Regions from separate parts of the Homo sapiens genome. Here all the other regions are linked to region 3. Evidence: promoter capture Hi-C in human tissues and cell types (Jung and others, 2019). All regions are on one chromosome and are shown on one strand. Each heading gives the region's core, a stretch centred on a gene start or on the middle of the fragment in contact. The rest is flanking DNA. Distances are from core to core; before and after follow the strand shown.

Evidence for each region. The method cuts DNA at HindIII sites, captures the fragments that hold promoters and counts their contacts. A contact is called where the count stands out against the background at its distance.
Region 1: a fragment that was not itself captured here is called in contact with the fragment with the promoter of MST1R in region 3 in 3 of the 25 tissues and cell types used here (lymphoblastoid cells, spleen and thymus).
Region 2: a fragment that was not itself captured here is called in contact with the fragment with the promoter of MST1R in region 3 in 5 of the 25 tissues and cell types used here (bladder, lymphoblastoid cells, mesenchymal stem cells and 2 more).

What each region holds. Positions count from the first base shown.
Region 1 is chr3:49,966,666-49,969,418 of GRCh38, forward strand. RBM6 (RNA binding motif protein 6) reads left to right here. Exons shown (of 21, transcript NM_005777.3): 3 at 805-2,083. Among named protein-coding and RNA genes, the nearest start is that of RBM6, 28 kb to the left of the region's middle. The HindIII fragment of the contact is 6,700 bases long and covers 1-2,753 here.
Region 2 is chr3:50,000,958-50,003,657 of GRCh38, forward strand. All of the region lies in intron 6 of RBM6 (RNA binding motif protein 6), which reads left to right. Among named protein-coding and RNA genes, the nearest start is that of RBM6, 62 kb to the left of the region's middle. The HindIII fragment of the contact is 4,044 bases long and covers 1-2,700 here.
Region 3 is chr3:49,902,451-49,905,150 of GRCh38, forward strand. MST1R (macrophage stimulating 1 receptor) reads right to left here and starts at 1,423. Exons shown (of 20, transcript NM_002447.4): 1 at 1-1,423. The coding sequence starts at 1,159. RefSeq lists enhancers at 1-447, 448-1,121, 1,758-1,807, 1,796-2,468 and a silencer at 1,348-1,567. The HindIII fragment of the contact is 20,801 bases long and covers 1-2,700 here.

The DNA.
Region 1 (2,753 bases), core at 210-2,709, 64 kb after region 3:
CCTAATGCTCTCTCTAGGTCTATCTCAGCATTGAGCCCCTGGATGCTGTTGCGTGGCTTAGATGACTTATACATGCTTTGTGGCATGATTCATACTACCTTCTACCTTCTGTGATACCCTTGGGTAGTTATAATAGGACCCAGGTTAGAGTGCTTCTTGGTGGAGCCACTGTAGAACTGGGATTTAGATGCAGCCAGGGCTGATGCTCAGCTGGTGAACACTGGTGTGCTTGTTCCTACTGGTGATTTACAACCAGTGTTTCTTCTTTTTGGGCCTGCATCCATTTTGATTGGGTGGTGTCCATGCTGTATCTGTAATAAAATATTTTTGAATGTTACCGCTGGATGCAGCGTGAGAAAGATACCTCCTGAAACTTACTGTAAGAAATTTACAGTGCATTGATTTTTCTGATATATAGGAATCGTCATGTTGACCTTGGAATTCTTAAGTTCCCTGGCTGTAGGAAATGGAAATTTTTGTAGTATGTCACCATTGTTAGCTTATTTGGTATTGCGGATTTTCCCTGTTGCAGGACTGGGTGAAAGCTTTTTCTGCAGCAGTCATGTTGAAAACCTTGTGTTGACTTTCCTCGTGTTCTGAAATGGGAGCATAAAAGTTTACTCCGCCACTTCGTCTTAAAATAGCAAAACTTTGCTGTTTTCTGCAGATCTAGGACCTTGTTACAGAACTCTGCCAAAAAAAAAATGTTTACAGAAGAATGTGCTGTGATTAGAGAAGAATATGCTGGTGTGTAGATTTCAAACTCTCTGGACAATATGAATAACACTGTCTTTGTTTCTACAGTGGGAGCCAAGAAGAAAGGTTTGCTCCCGGGTGGAACAGGGATTATCCTCCTCCTCCCCTTAAGAGTCATGCTCAAGAGAGACACTCTGGCAACTTTCCTGGCAGAGATTCACTTCCCTTTGATTTCCAGGGGCATTCGGGGCCTCCTTTTGCAAATGTAGAGGAGCATTCTTTCAGCTATGGAGCTAGAGACGGACCGCATGGTGACTATCGAGGAGGGGAGGGACCTGGACATGATTTCAGGGGGGGAGATTTTTCGTCTTCTGATTTCCAGAGCAGAGATTCATCACAGTTGGACTTCAGGGGTAGGGACATACATTCTGGGGATTTTCGGGATAGAGAAGGACCACCTATGGACTATAGGGGTGGAGATGGTACTTCTATGGATTATAGAGGTAGGGAGGCACCTCATATGAACTACAGAGACAGGGATGCTCACGCTGTTGACTTCAGAGGTAGGGATGCTCCTCCATCTGACTTCAGGGGCCGGGGCACTTATGATTTAGATTTTAGAGGCCGGGATGGATCCCATGCAGATTTTAGGGGAAGGGATTTATCAGATTTGGATTTTAGGGCCAGAGAACAGTCCCGTTCTGATTTTAGGAATAGAGATGTATCTGATTTGGACTTTAGAGACAAAGACGGAACACAAGTAGACTTTAGAGGCCGAGGTTCAGGTACTACTGATCTAGACTTTAGGGACAGGGATACGCCACATTCAGATTTCAGAGGTAGACACCGATCTAGGACTGATCAGGATTTTAGGGGCAGAGAGATGGGATCTTGTATGGAATTTAAAGATAGGGAGATGCCCCCTGTGGATCCAAATATTTTGGATTACATTCAGCCCTCTACACAAGATAGAGAACATTCTGGTATGAATGTGAACAGGAGAGAAGAATCCACACATGACCATACGATAGAAAGGCCTGCTTTTGGCATTCAGAAGGGAGAATTTGAGCATTCAGAAACAAGAGAAGGAGAAACACAAGGTGTAGCCTTTGAACATGAGTCTCCAGCAGACTTTCAGAACAGCCAAAGTCCAGTTCAAGACCAAGATAAGTCACAGCTTTCTGGACGTGAAGAGCAGAGTTCAGATGCTGGTCTGTTTAAAGAAGAAGGCGGTCTGGACTTTCTTGGGCGGCAAGACACCGATTACAGAAGCATGGAGTACCGTGATGTGGATCATAGGCTGCCAGGAAGCCAGATGTTTGGCTATGGCCAGAGCAAGTCTTTTCCAGAGGGCAAAACTGCCCGAGATGCCCAACGGGACCTTCAGGTATGTTGATGGGGTGGATTGCTTTTTTTTTTTTTTTTTTTTTTTTTTTTGAGACGGAGTCTCGCTCTGTTGCCCAGCCTGGAGTGCAGTGGTGCGATCTCTGCTCATGCAAGCTCCGCCTCCTGGGTTCATGCCATTCTCCTGCCTCAGCCTCCTGAGTAGCTGGGACTGACTACAGGCGCCCACCACCACGCCTGGTGTGAGCCACCGCGCCCGGCCTGCTTTTTTTTTTTTTCTTTAAATAAGACTTTTGTGAAGGATGACATTTATTTATTTATTTATTTATTTATTTTTGAAACGGAGTCTTGCTCTGTCACCCAGGCTAGAGTGCAGTGACATAATCTCAGCTCACTGCAACCTCCGCCTCCCAGGGTCAAGCAATTTTCCTGCCTCAACCTCCTGAGTAGCAGGGATTGCAGGCATGTGCCACCATGCCCAGTTAATTTTTGTATTTTTAGTGCAGATGGGGTTTCACCATGTTGGCCAGGCTGGTCTCGAACTCCTGACCTCGTGATCCGCCCACCTCGGCCTCCCAAAGTGCTGGAATTACAGGCATGAGCCACCGTGCCTGGCCAGTTTTTTTTTTTTTTTTTCATTTTATTTTTATCTTTGCATAACCATTAGAAAGCAAAATTTGTATTCAGGAGTGGAATGTAGGAATGTAAATCTC
Region 2 (2,700 bases), core at 138-2,637, 98 kb after region 3:
GTTTAAGCTTGTCAGATCCTTAAAGAATGACAGGCTTAGGACCATATCCCCTAGACTTAAGAGGATTCTCATTGACCATTTGTTCAGTGTCCATCACTGAATCACTTACCAAATACAGTTGACACTCTGTATCCACAGGTTCCACACCCATAGATTCAACCAAATGCTGATTGGACATATTCAGGAAAAAAATGCATTAACACTGCAACAATAAAAAATAATACAGGCCAGGAGTGGTGGCTTACTCTGTAATCCCAACATTTTGGGAGGCCCGGGTGGGAGGATTGCTTGAGGCCAGGAGTTTGAGACCAGCCTGGGCAACACAGGGAGACCCCATCTCTACAAAAAATAAAAGTGAAAAAATTAGCCAAGTGTGGTGGCTATCAACTTGGGAGGCTAAGATGAGAGGATTACTTGAGTCTGGATTGAGACTGCAGTGAGCTGTGATCACTCTGCTGCACTCTAGCCTGGGGTGACAGAGTGAGACCCCGTCTCAAAAAACAAAAAAGTACAGTTAACTATTTATATAGTCTTTATTAGGTATTAGATATAAGTAATCTAGAGATGGTTTAAAGTATGTTGGAGGATGTGTGTAGGTTGTATGCAAATACCATGTGATTTTATATAAGGGACTTGAGCATCCTGAGATTTTTGTGTCCTTGTGGGTCCTGGAACCAATCCCCTGTGGACACCAAGGGACAACTGTACTAACCATGTGTCAGAAACTGCTACATGCCAATTTTGGAGAGAAGAAAAAAGCTTCCAATCTGTGTGCTTTCGGTGGATCCTATTCTGACAGTCTGTCCAATTTTGAGAACACTCATTAATTCATAAGCAGTGAATGTGATTAAGTCGTTCGCCTCTGTGCTAAATACTCAATGTAATAGCTGATAGCTGAGTGCTATAAAGAAAATGAAGCAGGGTATTGGGAGAATGCATCATGGTGGCAATTTTAGAGGGGTGGTCAGGGAAACTTCTTGAGGAGTGACATACATTTAAGTTGTGACTCTTGGCGAATAATGTATCCAGAACACTTACTATAGTACCTAGCACTTGGTAGCATTTGAATTAATTTGAAATTCAGTGTCCTTCTTTCTCTCTCTTACCCTCCTCCACATGTCAAGTAATTTCCAATTATAAATTTTGTGTGTGTGTGTGAGACGGAGTCCAGCCAGGCTGGAGTGCAGTGGCGTAATCTTGGCTCACTGCAACCTCCGCCACCCGGGTTCCAGAGATCCTCCTGTCTCAGCCTCCCAGGTAGCTGGGACTACAGATATGCGCCACCATGCTTGGGTAAATTTTTTTTCTTTTTTTTTTTTTTTGAGATGGAGTCTCGCTCTGTTGCCCAGGCTGGAGTGCGGTGGCACGATCTCAGCTCATTGCAACCTCTACCTCCTGGGTTCAAGTGATTCTCCTGCCTCAGCCTCCCAAATAGCTGGGATTACAGGTGCCCGCCACCACACCTGGCTAATTTTTGTATTTTTAGTAGAGATGGGGTTTCACCATGTTTGCCAGGCTGGTCTGGAACTCCTGACCTCAGGTGATCCGACTGCCTTGGCCTCCCAAAGTGCTGGGACTGCAGGCGTGAGCCACCATGTCCTGCCAATTTTTGTATTATTAGTAGAGATGGGGTTTCACTATGTTGGCCAGGCTGGTCTTGAACTGCAGACCTTAGGTGATCTGCCCACCTTGGCCTCCCAAAGTGCTGGGATGACACGCACGAGTCACCGTGCCTGGCCTTCAATTATAATTATAAGAAAATAAATTTATTTTTATATCTGAAGTTTAATAAAACTAATTCTTTAAGGAAATGGATGTGGATTAAACTCCTTATGACATAGTAAACAATCTTATGAGAGACATAAGAATGTGAGGGAAGAAGTCCTGTCTCCTCAGGGTGAATAAAGTAAATATTTTGGGAGGCTGAGGCGAGCGGATCATGAGGTCAGGAGAGCAAGACCATCCTGACCAACAAGGTGAAACCCCGTCTCTACTAAAATACAAAAAAATTAGCCAGGTGTGGTGGCGCACGCCTGTAGTCCCAGCTACTTGGGAGGCTGGGGCAGGATAATTGCTTGAACCCAGGAGGTGGAGGTTGCAGTGAGCCAAGATTGCACCACTGCACTCCAGCCTGCTGACAGAGCAAGACTCTGTCTCAAGAAAACAATAAAATTGAATAAATAAATAAATAAATAAAATAAATATTTGTGGAAGATAAAATGTGTTTGTAGGCCGGGCACTATGGCTCAAGCTTATAATCCCACCACTTTGGGAGACCAAGGCTGGAGGATCACTTGAGCCCAGGAGTTTGAAATGAGCATGGGGTAAATAGTGAGACCCTGTCTAAATTTAAAAAAAAAAAAAAAAAAAAAAAAGTCTTTGTCTATCCTTTCCCCCAGTTTTACTTACAGACCAAATTGGTATGGATTCTGAGTCACCACGATCTGCTTGGCAACTCTTAGTAGAGCCTGAGTGTGTGTGTGCCTCTGAGAAGGTTACTCCGAAGTACTTTGAGTTTTTTTGTAACTCTTTGCTATTCCGACTCTTGATGTGAAATGTCTTTTATTTATCATTGGCTGGTACTTGTAGGCCTAGGGGATGGAAATAAAGGAATTTTCTGCTAGCTTGCTTTGTCAAATATTGTTGGGTATGTGTGCCTTCGTGAAGTTGCTCAAGATGATAACCAAGGTCCCTCTAGCC
Region 3 (2,700 bases), core at 173-2,672:
CACAACAGCGCTCCACACCCTCATCAATTAGTGTGTCCAGCAGGTCAATGGGGAAGGCACAGACGACAGAGTTGGGGCCCACGCCAGGACCACCATCCTTGCCAGTCACAAAGACCCCAAATAGTACTTCCTGGCCCTCGGCGATGCTCAGCTCAGTGGCAAGTTGGGCACCCACTGGAGCGGAGTGGGCCACCCGCAGCACAGGGTAGGGCTGTCCGCCTTCTGGGGCCCCCCGGCGCCTGCGTTTTGGAGCAAATCTGCAGTCGAGGACCAGCTCCCGATAGTCACCCAACTCTGGCTCAGTGGCGCTAAGCCGTGCCAGGCGTGTGTGCAGGGCACTAGGATCATCTGTCACGCTGGCCGGCTGTACAGTCAGGAAGTATACGAAGGCTCCCGTGTGGAAGCTGTGCACGTATTCAATACTGTAGGAGACAAGATGCTTGGGCAGCACTGACAACGCCACAAAGCCCGGTGCGAATCCCGAGGCGTCAGCCTTGAGACGCCTGATAGACACTGAGCGTGGGCTGAAGCTGGCAGCCACGGCTGCGTCCAGTGAGGATGCCACGTAGAAATAGGAGGCCTGGCCTTGCTCAACCACAGTTACACGGGTGCCCAATGGGCTGGCCACACAGTCGGGGCAGTCATCGGGCCGGTTATGGTGGGCTGAGAAGAGGCAGGCTGGCGCTGCCAGATGCACGGCTGTCCCTTGGGGCTCTAGGTCATGCAGGAAGCAGCGGCCCTGCAGGCTGGAGCCACAACTGACCAGCGCAGGCAGCGCGGGATCCAGCACCAGCACCTTTGTGTCTGTGTCACCGGGAGGGCCGTGGGGTCCTGGGCCACAGGCTGCACACGTCTGGCAGCCAGGGTCTCCAGCAGGGCCCGTGGCCAGGCTCTGGACAGACTTCAGGTCAGGCCCAAGCACATGCAGGCGATTGCGTATGGCTACAAACACAGCACTCTCATTTCTGTCGCCCTCGTAGGTCACCATGGCCTGTACCAGGCCTCCGGCGGAGAAGCTGGGCACCACGTACTTCACGTCAAAGTCGCGAGAGGCCGCGTAGGGGGTGCGCGGGCACTGCCAGTCCTCGCCCGCCGCGGGCTTGGCAGGCAACAGCAGCAGCAACAGGAAGGACTGAGGCAGCGGCGGGAGGAGCTCCATCGAGGCGAGCTGGGACCCTAGAGGATCCCTACCGGCCTGGGCCTGGACCTGGGCGTGGGCCTGGCTGGGGGCCCGACTCGAGGTCTGGACTGGGCCAAATTTAAGCAGCGGTCCCGACAGCCCCAAGATAGCGGACCCCCGCCCCAGGTTCCTGTGAAACCCAAATCCCTTCCCGGCCCTCGGGTCTGAGCACCTGACGCCTGCGGACGCACGACAGCAACGCCCCAGCCGCCTCACCTGCCGCCCCAGCCGCCGCTGTACACTGGCGCTTAGCGCTCAGCCGACCCGAGGGCGCCGGGCTGGGCGGGCGGAGTCGGGCCGTGGGGGCGGGGCCGCGAGGAAGGCTTGGCCTAGCCCAGGCCCTCCGCCCATCCGACTCTTCCGGCCCTTGGAGGCCTGGCTCCTGTACCTTCACCTGGCGTCTTGGCGCCTTTTTCTCAGCGGCCTGTGGGTGGATGTGCATGGTGTGGCCTGGAGAGAGGTGAGCCAGTCTGAGCCGTCCCATCCCATCCCCCCACTACCGACTGGTTCGCAGCGAGAAGGGGGGCAGGACACTGGGCTCTTTGCTTGCGGTGGAACTAGTTTGCACTTAGTAGCAACACCCTCAGTGGCTGGTGCCCAGAGGTGGCCTGGGGGCCCACCATGTGGAGAACAGAGACCAGGATTGTGTGGAAGACCAGAGGGGAGATGTGGGGCACTTACAAGAGATGTTATGGGGCGCCACCCTTTGTGGGAAAGGACTGTCCTTTTTTTTTTTTGAGAAGGAGTCTTGCTCTGTGGCCCAAGCTGGATTGCAGTGGCGCGATCTCGGCTCACTGCAAACTCCGCCTCCCAGGTTCAAGCGATTCTCCAGCCTCAACCTCCTCCTGTCTCAACCTCCTGAATAGCTGGGATTACAGGCGCGCACCACCACACCCGGCTAATTTTGTATTTTTAGTAGAGACAGGATTCACAGTGTTGGCCAGGCTGGTCTCAAACTCCTGACCTCAGGTGATCCGCCCGCCTCAGCCTCCCAAACTGTTGGGATTACAGGCGTAAGCCACCGCGCCCGGCCGGGACCATTCTTCCATGTGCTTCTCCTGAGCTATCAGCGACAAGATGGTGTCAGAGGAAGGTGTGTTATGCCCTGCTCTCCCAGGGCCATAAGGGTCTTAGGATGGGATCTGGCCTTGCTGACTGGACCTCAGAGTCAGAGAGGCACGTAAGTGGAGGCCCATACCTCCTCTGCAGCCTCAGTATATGGAAGCTGTATAATGGGGTCCACAGTATGGGCCTTGGGGACTCCCCCTTCCTTCCTGGCTCTACCCAGTGCCCCCCTGATATGGAGGAATCATGGGCTTTGGCTCTCAGGACACTTCCAACATGCTCTGTAGGCCTTGCTGGATCTTATTCTCTTCAATGAGAATGTAGTTCTGGGCTGGGCACCGTGGCTCATGCCTGTAATCCTAGCACTCCTTTGAGGGGCCAAGGCAGGAGGATTGCTTGAGGTTAGGAGTTCAAGACCAGCCTGGGCAACATAACAAAACTCAACAAAACAAAAA